2 separate regions of the Homo sapiens genome follow, and region 2 is linked to region 1. Evidence: promoter capture Hi-C in 16 types of primary human blood cells and fetal thymus (Javierre and others, 2016). All regions are on one chromosome and are shown on one strand. Each heading gives the region's core, a stretch centred on a gene start or on the middle of the fragment in contact. The rest is flanking DNA. Distances are from core to core; before and after follow the strand shown. Region 1 holds the start of LMAN2L (lectin, mannose binding 2 like). Region 2 overlaps STARD7 (StAR related lipid transfer domain containing 7).

Evidence for each region. The method cuts DNA at HindIII sites, captures the fragments that hold promoters and counts their contacts. A CHiCAGO score of 5 or more calls a contact.
Region 2: a contact is called between a fragment that was not itself captured here and the fragment with the promoter of LMAN2L in region 1, in 1 of 17 cell types (total CD4 T cells). The highest score is 6.2, in total CD4 T cells.

The regions. Positions count from the first base shown.
Region 1 is chr2:96,737,402-96,744,112 of GRCh38, forward strand. LMAN2L (lectin, mannose binding 2 like) reads right to left here and starts at 2,663. Exons shown (of 8, transcript NM_030805.4): 1 at 2,453-2,663; 2 at 548-666. The coding sequence starts at 2,639. RefSeq lists enhancers at 1,039-1,978, 1,979-2,916. The HindIII fragment of the contact is 9,784 bases long and covers 1-6,711 here.
Region 2 is chr2:96,190,217-96,196,927 of GRCh38, forward strand. STARD7 (StAR related lipid transfer domain containing 7) reads right to left here. Exons shown (of 8, transcript NM_020151.4): 2 at 5,125-5,333; 3 at 4,742-4,791; 4 at 3,026-3,136; 5 at 2,862-2,944; 6 at 2,153-2,252. Among named protein-coding and RNA genes, the nearest start is that of STARD7-AS1, 15 kb to the right of the region's middle. The HindIII fragment of the contact is 519 bases long and covers 2,675-3,193 here.

The sequences.
Region 1 (6,711 bases), core at 1,413-3,912:
ACCTTTGGGAGGCCAAGGCAGGAGGATTGTTTGAGACCAAGAGTTTGAGACCAGCCTGGGCAACATAGCAAGACCCCATCTCTACAAAAAACGTTTTAAAAATTAGCCAGGTGCAGTGGCACATGCCTGTAGTCTCAGCTACTCAGGAGGCTGAGGCAGGAGGAGCCCTTAAGCCCAGGAGTTTGAGGCTGCAGTGAGCTATGATTGTGCCACTGCACTCTGGTCTTCTTATAATCTTCTTACAAAGTGGTTAAGCAGGAGTTAAGTTATTATTAAACCCTAAGAAGTAGTACTATTGGGCCAATCAGGAATTAACGACATTTCAGGAAAAAAAAATGAATTATTTGCTATAATTAAATAGAGAGCATTTTCCTAAATACCTGATTTATTTATTATCAAGGTCAGAATAATCTCAAAAATAAAGATCCTTGATATCCACAGAAGATAGAATACCAGGGGGATAGACAGTAAAATTAAATCAGTATGCCACTGCTGAACTTTTTAGGCCTTTCTGGGTCACCAACACAGGAGGGAGAAAGATTCTTACCACCCGGTTCCACAAGGCACCCTGTTTACTTTGCATATCTGGGGTAAGGCGGATATACTGGGTCATCACCATGGCATTGCCCATCAGATTCCACAGTGAGGAACTGCCTGTGCCCACACCTACAGGAAGGAAGTAGATCAGTTCATACTTTTCAACACCAATCCATTCAGAAAGCAGCCACCACAGAGCCTCTGAAAGCTGAGCCATCATCTTTTTCCCCCTTTAATGTCACTCAATCTCCTATCTTCTCTCAGTCATGAATCTTACCATCTCTACAGCTTTCACAAGGCCTTTATCAGGTAAGGACCCCAAAGCACATCAGAACTCTCACTTTATGCATGTTACAGTAACCATAGCTCACATCCATTCTTCCCGTTTTATATGTGAGTAAACTTCAGCATCGTAAAAGAAAAAAATTTTCCTGAGTTATATCAAAAAGAGTTTGACAGGCCAGGTGCAGTGGCTCACCCATGTAATCCCCACACTTTGAGATGATGTGGAGGGAGGGCATCTTGAGGTCAGCAATTTGAGACCAGCCTGGGCAACATAGAAAGACCCTGTCTTTACCAAAAAAAAAATTAGCCAGGTGTGGTAGTCCTTGTCCATAGTCCTAGCTACTCAGGAGGCTGAGTTGGGAGCATCGCTTGAGCCCAGGAGATTGAAACTGCATGAGCCATGATTGTGCCACTGCACTCCAGCCTAGGCAACGGAACAAGACCTTGTCTCTAAAAATATATAAATATAAATAAAAAGAGTTTGACCCTCAGGCCTCCGGGGCTTAGTCACATTCTTCCTTTTTTTTTTTTCTTTGAGATGGAGTCTCGCTCTGTTGCCCAGGCTGAAGTGCAGTGGCATGACCTCGGCTCACTGTAAGCTCTGCCTCCCGGGTTCACGCCATTCTCCTGCCTCAGCCTCCTGAGTAGCTGGGACTACAGGCGCCCGCCACCACACCTGGCTAATTTTTTTGTATTTTCAGCAGAGATGGGGTTTCACCGTGTTAGCTAGGATGGTCTCAATCTCCTGACCTCGTGATCCGCCCACCTCGGCCTCCCAAAGTGCGGAGATTACAGGCGTGAGCCACCGCCCCAGCCGTCACATTCTTTCTTTAAACAATCCTTAAAGTGTGAAGCTACTCCCTGTACCCTCACCTATAAACTTCTTTAAGAATGAAAACTTTGTGTCTGCAAACCCATAAGCATTAGCAAAGAGACAGCACAGAGGCACTCCAGGCATGTAAGTGAATAAATGATTACCCTTAGTAGTAGAGTATACTCTTGCACTTTGAATTGTTTTCTGTCCCACTACCTACGCCTTAGTGGGGAAAGACTTGTGTTAGTTAAGCCATCTGCACTGGTTTGTCATCGTTTTGTGGCTAACTGCATTAATTTTCTGGCTGATAAGCTGTGCTTAGAGTTCTGTGAACCCTAACCTCTTTCACCAACAGGGCCCCTAGGCTGGAGAAGAGAAGGTGGTTCTACCCAGCAACATAAATTTATCATCTTCTCATTTCGTTCAAGTTCTACCCCAGTTCTTCCTCCTGCTTTATTTCTAGCACATCCACAGGTCCATCTGGAGACTGGCTCATTGCTAGTAGCCCTCAATCACTCCTCACCATTCTCAATTCTCTCCCCTTCCCAAACTCCTCCTGTCTAACTCCAGGCCTAGTACTAGTGGCACCCGACAGCCCTGCCTTTACCTACTGGAAACTTCCAGAGCTTGGCAGGCACACCTAACTCCTGCCTTTCAGACCTGTGGCTCCCAAACGCGGAGGGAGTCTCCGTGGGCCCCACCACCGCCAGCAGTTTCCTCCGGGCCACGAAGCCCTTCGCCGCCCCCGCCTCTACCCCTGAAATCAAGTCCCGAAGCCCGCCCCACTGCACGACCACCTCACCCTGGGCGCCTCACCCTGGTAGGGCTTCGACAGCGAGTGCTCCCGTTTCAAGTACTCGAACGTTTGACCCGCCCCGACTTGCTGTGGCCCCTGCCCAGACCCCAACAAAAGAAGAAGGAGTAACATCCTGGACCCATCCCGAGCCGACAAACATCGCCGCCACTGCTGCCACGACCCAAGGGGTCCCAGAGTCGCCGCCATCTTTCCCACCAACGACCCTTCATCAAAAGCCCGCCCCGTCGCCCAACCCATTGGCCCGAAGAGCCATCTGCCCTGCGTCCTATTGGCTTTCGTCAAGCCCCCGCCCCTGCAGGTGACTATATCACCGATTGGCTGGCTTCTGTATCAGTTGCCTTGCCAACCCAGAAAAGGGGCGTAGCCGAATGCCCAGCCCCCCCCCTTATTTGCATTTGCCCTGAGTTCCACTAGGCTTGCTGGGATACGTAGTTTATTTGTATTTTGTTTTCTGCGTACGAGAGTAAATTTAAAGAGATAAAACGTTTCTTCTGGTCCCAAACATTCTATCCTCTCTGCAATAGTACGCTCCTGACTGCAGCTCTCTGAATCAATTTGGAAGATATAGCAGTGAAAGGAGAAATAGACAAATCCGTAAAATAGCTGGAAAACTATCAATTTATAAAAGACTTGAACAGCACTACCAACTAACTTGACCTGATGATATTTATAGAAACTCCACCTAACAACTGCGGAAGACACATTCTCTTCAAATGCAAATGACTCCTTTGCCGTGATAGTCTGGGCCATCAAGCAACCTACAGATATAAAAGAACTGAAAGCACACAAATTAATTAATTCTAAAAGCCATCACCTCCTTTCCTCCCTTCCTCTTTTTTTTCTTTTTGGTTTGAGACGAGGTCTTGGCCAGGCGCGGTGGCTCACGCCTGTAATCCCAGCACTTTGGGAGGCCGAGGCAGGCGGATCACCTGAGGTTGGGAGTTCGAGACCAGCCTGACCAAGGTGGAGAAACCCCGTCTCTATTAAAAATAAAAAAAAAAATTAGCCAGGCGTGGTGGCACGTGCCTGTAATCCCAGCTACTGGGAGGCTGAGGCAGGAGAATCGCTTGAACCTGGGAGGCAGAGGTTGCAGTGAGCCGAGACCAAGCCATTGCACTCCAGCCTGGGCCACATAGAGCAAAACTCCATCTCAAAAAAAAAAAAAAAAAGAGAGACAAGGTCTTGCTCTGTTGCCCAGGCTGGAGTGCAGTGGCACAATCTCAGCTCCAGCCTCTCCCTCCCTGGCTGAAGTGATCCTGCCACCTTAGCCTCCTGAGTTACTGGGACTACAGGCACATCCCTTCGTCTTTATCCGGCACCACAACATGTGTCCAGACTGGTCTCCACGTAGCCACTAAAGTGATCCAAACTATCTAACCATGGTAAGTGTCAGGGTTAAATGAGTCAATATTGGTAAACCTCTTAGAACAGTGCCTTGCGTGTAGTAAGCACTATTTCTTTCTTTTTTCTTTTCTTTTTTTTTTTGTTTTTGTTTTTGTTTTTGTTTTTGAGACAGGGTCTCTCTCTGTCACCCAGGCTGGAGTGCAGTGGCATGACCACAGCCTCAACCTCCTGGACTCAAGGGATCTTCCCACTTCAGCCTCTCAAGTAGCTGGGACTACAGGTGTGTGCCACCTCACCTTGCTAATTTTTATTTTTTGTAGCTATGGGGTTGTGGGGGAGGTCTCACTAAGTTGCCCAGATTTGTCTCATACTTCTAGACTTCAGTGATCCTCTCTCCTCAGCCTCCCAAAGTGCTGGGATTAGAGGTGTAAGCCACCGCACCAAGCCATAAGCGCTATTTCATCATCATCATTCTTATTAACCGGGCCTTTGATGGCTCACCATCACCTGTGGGGAGGAGATTCAAGCCCCTCAATTTGGCACACAAAGCCCCCTGCCATCTGGCCCTGGCCTTATTGCCCATGACTCTTTTCCTCCATCTTTATGCTCCAGCTTCCCTTCCCTCTTTTTTTTTTCTGCAGTCCACTTCCTTCTGGAGGTCCTTCTCAAACCTCTCAGGCAGGGTAGATTCTCCTGTCTGAGCTCTCAAAGTGTTCCATGCACATCTCATATAGAGCAATTGACAGATCTGTGTTTATGTCTTCCCAATAGACTTAACCAAAGTTAACACTCTCTTGCTTTCCTGAGCATGAATATATTTAATAAGATAAACATAATTATGAGCCTACTTTACAGGGGATCAACTTTTTAAAATTAAAGCTGTCACAGCTATTTTTTTTAAAGAGATGGGGTCTTGGCTGGGCACGGTGGCTCAGGCCTGTAATCCCAGCACTTTGGGAGGCAGGCGGATCACCTGAGGTCAGGAGTTCAAGACCATCCTGGCCAACATGGTGAAACCCCATCTCTACTAAAAATACAAAAAATTAGCCAGCCGTGGTGGCACACGCCTGTAGTCCCAGCTACTCAGGAGGCTGAGGCAGGAGAATCACTTGAACCCAGAAGGCGGAGGTTGCAGTGAGCCGAGACCGCACCACAGCACTCCAGCCTGGGCAACACAGTGAGACTTCGTCTCGAAAAATATATATATACATATATATACAAAAATTAAATGGGCGTGGTGGCAGGTGCCTGTAATCCCAGATACTTGGAAGGCTGAGGCAGGAGAATCACTTGAACCCAGGAGGTAGAGGTTGCAGTGAGTCAAGAAGATCCCACCACCATACTCCAGCCTGAGCAGCAGATCCGTCTCAAAAAAACAAAAAAAAGAAGAAATGGGGTCTCAATCCATCAGGCTGGGGTGCAGTACTGTGATCATAGCTCACTACAGTCTCAAACTGCTGGGTGAGCCTCAGCTAATTTTTAAAATTTTTTCTAAAGATGGGGGTCTCTATGTTGCCCAGGCTGGTTTTGAACTTCTGGCCTTAAGCGATCCTCCCACCTCATCTCTCAAAGTGCTGAGATTACAGGTGTGAGCCATGGTGCCCAGCCTGTCACTGCCATCAGTCTTTGACACCCTACAATGTCAAATGTCTGGTGCTAAGACTTTAGGAATTGCAATGAATCTGTTCGTGTCATACACTGGCTTTAAAACCATTCATAACTCCCAATTACCAAAATCCAAAGTCCTTAGTGTAGCATTCAAAGCCCTTTGCATCCTGACTGAAATCAGGCGCTACGCATGTGTACTGTAATGTGTGTCACCTGGAATTATGGAGCTCAATTAACAGATTATGGGTTTGTCTCCGCAGCAAGGCTGGGAGCTCCAGGACCACAGGAAGCAGGTCTTACTCATTTCCTAACTCAGGCCCCACCCATTTCCCCAACCCCAACCTATCACCCAGCACATAGTAGGGGTTCTAATTGTTTTGAATAAATTATTTCCATTGCATTTCTCTGCAAGATGAATTTTTAATTGTAGTAAAATGCACATAAAGGCCGGGCGCGGTGGCTCACACCTGTAATCCCAGCACTTTGGGAGGCCGAGGTGGGTGGCTCATCTGAGGTCGGGAGTTCGAGACCAGCCTGACCAACATGAAGAAACCCCGTCTCTACTAAAAATACAAAATTAGCCGGGTGTGGTGGCGCATGCCTGTAATCCCAGCTAGTTGGGAGGCTGAGGCAGGAGAATCGCTTGAACCTGGGAAGTGGAGGTTGCGGTGAGCCAAGATCGCGCCACTGCACTCCAGCCTAGGCAACAAGAGTGAAACTCTGTCTCAAAAAAAAAAAAGAAAAAAAATACATAAAATACAGCGTATAATTTTTAAGTACAGATGGTCCTCAACTTACAATGGGGTTACCTACAGAAAAACTAAACCCATCCTAAAGTCTAAAAATCCTAAGTCAAACCATCATTAAGTCAGGACCATGTGTGTTCAGTTCAAAGGCATTAAATTCATTCGCAGTGTCATGCACCCTGTCAGCTGAATTTCTGATAGATTGACACAAGCAGAAATCTCATTGTAAAATTCTGTGTGATGAGGAAAAGGGGAATAAAGGAGAAGGGTGTGAAAGGTGAGATGCACTGGACTATAAATCAAATCATTTTGTTCAGACTGTTGCAATAGGAAGAATGCTTATTAATGAGGAATGTATCAAAGAAAAGGAAGAGCCAGGCCCGGTGGCTCATACCTGTAATCCCAGTACTTTGGGAGGCTGAGGCGGGTGGATCATGAGGTCAGGAGTTCGAGACCAGCCTGGCCAATATAGTGAAACCCCATCTCAACTAGAAATACAAAAATTAGCCAAGCGTGGTAGTGCACACCTGTAGTCCCAGCCACTCGGGAGGTTGAGGCAG
Region 2 (6,711 bases), core at 1,684-4,183, 550 kb before region 1:
TGGGGTCATGTCAAAGGGGCTTGAGCCAACAAGAAGACTCCCAATGACCAAAACTGGAATCAATTTGAGCATCAATAAGGATAATATATTTAAAAACTAAGTACATTTAAGTCTGTGTCTTTTTTTTTTTTTTTTTTTGAGACGAGTCTCACTGTGTCGCCCACGCTGGGGTGCAGCGGCACGATCTTGGCTCACTGCAACCTCTGCCTCCCAGGTTCAAGCCATTCTCTCCTGCCTCAGCCTCCCAAGTGGCTGGGATTACAGACACGTGCCACAATGCCTGGATAATTTTTGTACTTTTAGTAGAGACAGGGTTTCACCATGTTGGCCAGGCTGGTCTCAAAATCCTGACCTCAAGTTATCTACATGCCTCGGCCTCCCAAAGTGCTGGGATTACAGGCGTGAGCCACTGCGCCTGGCTTTTTTATTTTTTATTTTTTTTTTGAGAAGGGTCTCAAACTGTTGCCCAGGCTGGCATGCAGTGGCACAAACACGGCTTAATGCAGCCTTGACCTCCTGGACTCAAGTGATTCTCCCAACCTCAGCTTCCCAAGCAGCTGGGACTACAGGCACATATCACCATGCCTGGCTAATTTTTATTTTTTGTAGAGACCGGGTCTCTCCATGCTGCCTGGCCCAGAGCTGTTTTACAAATTTCTTACTTGGGCTGGGCACAGTGGCTCACGCCTCTAATCCCAGCATTTTGGGAGGCTGAGGTGGGAGGATTGCTTGAGTCCAGGAGTTTGAGACCAGCCTGCGCAGCATGGTGAGACCCCATCTCTACAAAAAATACAAAAAATTAGCCTGACATGTTGGCACACGCCTATAATCCCAGCTCCTCAGGAGGCTGAGGCAGGAGGATCACCTGAGCCCAGGAAGTCAAGGCTGCAGTGAGTTGTGATTGTACCACTGCACACTAGCCTGGGTAACAGTGGGAGACCCTGTTTCCAAAAAAACCCAAAATCCTTATTTGAGATAAATACTGAAATATATAATAGAAGAACTGGGTTCTCCTACAGTAAAGCTAGAATTTGCTTCAAAATAATCAGGGGAGTGAGAAAGGAAATGGGAAAGGGTATAGATAAAACAATTTTGGCCATAAGTTGATAACTGGAGCTGGGGATGGATACAGGGGGTTCATTATACTCTTCTACTTCTGTATCTTTTGTATCTATTTCAAATTTTCCATGATAAAAACCCCCTACCTTGGCTCAAAGATCTAATTCCCATTTGGCAAATCCAAACTCAGCTACATGGTTTTCGAGTACCCTCTGTACACAGTCAATGCAATTTATCACTTCTCCCTAACCTCTACTTTCCTCTCTAAGCATGTGAGTCTCTCAGTGCATACCTGGCTCATTCCTATCTTTGTCTTTGCTTGAATCATGTCTTCTAACCCTAGTGCCCTGCCTGCTTTCCTCTCTATCCAGTGTACTTTTTTTTTTGTTTTTTTTTACAAGGACCAACTCAAGTCCTTGAGGTGGTATAAATAAAACAACTTGATGAGAATAAGAAAACTACACTAAAGAACACTGTCCATATAGCCCTAAATCGAACACAAGCAATAGGGAGAAACAAAGCCATTATAAGGTGAAGTGGAACTAAAACCAGCAGCCACTAGCATCAATATCTATACTCTCAGTGGAGATTTAGCTTAAAAAGATAAAAAATAAACACAAAACACCTCATTAGGCTGAAATAAATATTCTTTTCAAAGAAAGGTCACAGAATTTTAAAGAAGGCAGACAGCATGAGTCCAATCTTCCCATTACTCTGGCAAGGAAGCAGAAATCCAGAAAAGTTTCCATCCAGTGCTCTGCCCACTGTAGTAAAATGTTGACAGGAGGTACTCGCTCTAGTTCCTGAAGAATGCTACTGATACAGGCTAATGCGTCAGTGGCTATGATTCTTTTAACTATCTCTCAGATAAGAGGGAACCAATGGATTGCCACTACTTTGTCCTTGGGGAACTTCCAGGTACATCACCTACGTCAGGAGTTCCCAAAAAATGGTTCCCAGACCAGTAGCATCAGACTCCCCCGAGCGAGAACTGTTCCTGCGCCACACCCCCTCCTCCCTAGTTCAGGTAAGACATCCCTTGAGAAAATTCCACAGCCATGACATGTTATCTCTTGGATGAGGTAAAACTCACCTCATCAAATGACTTGTGGGGACGGATAACCATTTGGGATTCATATGATCTGACCCTGACGAATTCTGGAGACTCTGGCACACTCGGATGCTCCACAGCACTGGTAAGGAGGAAAGGAGAAGCAAACTCTTAGTAATGTCTATATATAAAACAACAGGAGAGCTAAGTTAAGGGGAAGGCCTAAAAAGCTGGCTCTGATATTTTTAAATACACAAAACAAAGGAGTCACTAAGATGAATAAATACAAACTAAGTTCTAAAAATGAAGCGAAGGCCAGACGTGGTGGCTCATGCCTGTAATCCCAACACTGGGAAGCCAAGGAAGGAAGATCACTTGAGGCCAGGAGTCCAAGACCAGCCTGGACCACACTGTGAAACCCTGCGTCTACAACAAACAAATGAATTAATTAAAAATGAAGTGAGTTCCTTTGGTAATTTACGGCTCACTAGGCTGTGGGTCAAAAACAACAGCACTTCTTTTGATTACCAACATTAAAGAACCCAAAAAAACAGTTTAACTAAAAGCTTGTATCTCTCCATTCTTTCTAGACAGTCAGAGTCCCTCATCTTCTAGCTGGATGGAAGGGGCACTGGCTGCAGGGAAGCCTGTGGGAGACTCATAGGACACTAAGAATATACAAACTCAGGTACGTAGGAATGAAGGCCACAGCTAAAGGAACTCGGCAACAGCCACAGGCAGCCATACATACCGCGACACCAACACCATCATGTTGTTTTCCTGATCCACACTATACCGCCGAACATAAACATAATCCCGTGAGTACATTGGATACTAAAGAAATGGAGGAGCAGGATTAGTGTTCTGCATCACACAAACCTGGACAGAAATAAAATCAGAAGTAAAAATACTCACAGGAAAATGGGTTACCCAGTGAAGAACCTCGGAACCACTAACCACATCCCTCTCAATCACCTCCAGCTTGATTACCAGGGCATCCCATTTTTTTCTATACTCTGTGTCCAGCTGCAGAAAGAGAAAAGACCATGAATACCCAAGAAGACCCAAAACAAAAATGCAGAAAGCTTTCCAGATGCTTTGGTCTCTGATCCAAGAATCTTATTACAAGGAGAGAGTAATCTGACCTAACAGACAGTGCCAGAGTGTGAGAGACATGGCTGTGTTTACTACAGATGTTTCTTTCAAAATCACCTTATACAGGCTAATGTCATTACACTGAATGTGAATCTTCATTAGACAAACCAAGGAAAAGTGTAACAAAATATTTTAATAGACACATCTGGGGAAAATAATATATAGTGATATGAATGTGTAAGGGTAAGACAATTCTAAAAAGTTTTAAACAACAAAAAGTCCAAAAGTATTAAGTAGACACTTCACACACAAAAATGCAAGCAGCATATTTTTTTAAATTTCTGGCATCACTAGTAACTGAAGATTTTCAACTTAAGACAGATATACCATATACATAAAACCAACAAAAATTCACTACAAATTAACAAGATCCAGTACCTCAGGGAAAGTGCACTTGCACGTTAGAGTGAGTGTTATAACCAACGAAGTAGTTATCGGAAGTCAGCAAAACAAATGAAAAATCCAGAAAGAAAAAAATTTTGTTCTAGAACTCTGGGCGATCCCACCTCCCTGTTTCATTTTTTAAACCATCTTCCCCTACAAGGAGGAAAGCAGTCTTTGAACAGATACTCTTCATCTTTATGAAATAAACATTGGGCCAACACAGTGACTCACACCTGTAATCCCGGCACTTTGGGAGGCAAAGGCAGGAGGATCACTAGAGCCCAGGGAGTTCAAGACCAGCCTAGGAGACATAGGGAGACCCTGTCTCTAAGAAAAAAAAATTTTAATTAGCCAAGTGTGGTGGCGCATGCCTGTAGGCCTGGAAGCTGAGGTGGGAGGATCACTTGAGTCCAGGAAACAAAGGCTGCAGCAAGACATGATCACACCACTGTACTCCAGCCTGGGTAACACAGCAGGACCCTGTCTCAGGGAGAGGAAAGAAAAAAAAAAACCCTCCACTATGGAAATGTTCTTGATTTGAGGTTAAACAGATGTGACAACTAAATATAATCCTATCTGTACTGAAGTGGAAAATGCTATAAAGGACATTGAGTCAACTGATAAAACTGATAAATACAAACAGAGGACTACATGAAAGTGTTCCATCAGTGTTAAATTTACTAATTTCAATAATGGTATCATGATTAGTTAAGAAATACGGCATATGGCTAGTTTTAGGAAATACACACTGGAAGAATTTAGGAGTAAAGGACTATGATGTATGTAACTTACTCTTAAGTTGTTTGGGGAAAAAAACAATAAAGCCTCATAAAATACATTAAAGTATTCATATCCATTCCTCTATCTGATATTCCCAACAGTCCTGTGGGAGGGTAAAACTGATCTCATCCCCATGGGACAGATAAAGAAATTCTAAGTCAAATGTTTACCTAAATGCTATGCAATGTGGATGACAGGTAGATAGATGGATGTACTTAAGCCAATGTCACCTGAGTCAGATAAATGATTCATGTAGACAGTAGCAATTGATATGCTAGGAGGCTCCAAATCTGGAGAGAAAAATTAACTCACCTGAACATTGAAGAACTGCCGAGGTGTCACATCTGTGTAGGTTCCAAAAACTAGAATGAAAAGAAAGAATAAGGGATGCTGGCCATACTCCAGTCACTCGCCTTGTTTCTTTCACCTAGCGGCGTTTCAGATCTAAAGTACTAAGAGATCTTAAAGGCAGGTTCAGAAACTAGAAGTCTTAGTAGAGCAACAAAGAAAGACAAAGAGGATGTAAGCAAAGACAACACTGAGACATTTGTCATCTGGGAGAAGAAAAACAATAAACAAAAAACTACGGCAAATTTTCTGAGAAACAACCAGAACAGTTTAGAGAAGTATGAAGAACAGAAATCCCATGCACCTGTGCAACTATGGAACCCAAAAGATAGCCACACTGGGCTCACCTCGGTACTGGTAAAGGTGGGTGCCTGTAATTGGGCGCCGCCACAGCTTAAAGTGTTTCTTATCCATCACCATTTCCCAACGTTGCTCTTTGCCCTCTGAATCTTCATTCCCTTCTGTTTGGGCTTTTGGTTCTGGAGGGTGGTGCTGGACTCCAGAGCTCTGAAACATATTTGACATTTCTTCCAACCGCTTCATCTCATTAATAGATCTGTAAAGGGGAAAAAGAGCCATGGTGAGGTGGTTAGTCAGCCCTGTGAAATGAAGTGTCCACACAAAGGTCTGTGCAAGAAGGTTATACAGTAAACCACAGTATGTAGTATATAAACAGGACACAGTATAGTCAATAAAAACTGAGTTCCTGAGTTTGAATCTTAGTCCAACACTCACTAACTAGATTATTATTTAACCAGTTCCTATTTCTAAATCTATAAAATGGAAATAATAATAGTACCTATCTCGAGGTTGGCTATAAAGATTACAAAGTGTCAAGTGCTGCAGGGCGTGGTGGCTCACGACTGTAATCTCAACACTGGGAGGCAGAAGAGGGTGGATCACGAGGTCAGGAGCTCAAAACCAGCCTGATCAACATGGTGAAACCCTGTCTCTACTACAAACACAAAAATTAACCGGGCATGGTGGCGCGCAACTGTAATCCCAGCTACTCAGGAGGCTGAGGCAGGAGAATGACTTGAACCTGGGAGGCAGAGGTTGCAGTAAGCCGAGATCACGCCACTGCACTCTAGCCTGGGCGACAGAGTGAGACTCTTGTCTCAAAAAAAAAAAAAAAACAAAAAACAAAAAACAACGAAAAAAAAGTAAGTGTCAAGTGCTTAATATCTATGGCCAGGCACAGAGGCTCACTCCTGTAGTCCCAGCACTTTGGGAGGCCAAGGCAGGAGGACTCCTTGAGGCCAGGTTCAAGACTAACCTGGGAAACACAGTGAGACCCTACCTCTAAGAAAAAATTTAAAAAATTAGCCAGGCATAGTGGCACATGCCTGTACTCCAAGCTATAGGCTGAGATGGGAACATCACTTGAGCCCAGGAGTTGGAGGCTGTAGTGAGCTACAATTCTGCCACTGTACTCCAGTCTGGGCAATACAGTAAGACTCTGTCTCTTTTTTTTGTTTGTTTTTTTGAAACAGAGTCTCACTCTGTCACCCAGGCTAGAATAGAGTGCCATGATCTGGGCTCACTGCAACTTCCGCCTCCTGGGTTCAAGTATTTCTCCTGCCTCAGCCTCCCCAGTAGCTGGGACTACAGGCACGCGCTATCATGCCCGGCTGATTTTTTGTATTTTTAGCAGAGACAGGGTTTCACCGTGTTACCCAGGACGGTCTCAATCTCCTGACCTCATGATCTGCCCGCCTCGGCCTCCCAAAGTTCTGGGATTACAGGCGTAAACCACCGTGCCCAGCTACACTGTCTCTTAAAAAATAAAATAGGCTAGGCGCAGTGGCTCACGCCTGTAATCCCAATACTTTGGGAGGCTGAGGCAGGCGATCACCTGAGGTCAGGAGTTTGAGACCAGCCTAACCAACGTGGAGAAACCCTGTCTCTACTAAAAATACAAAATTAGCTGGGCA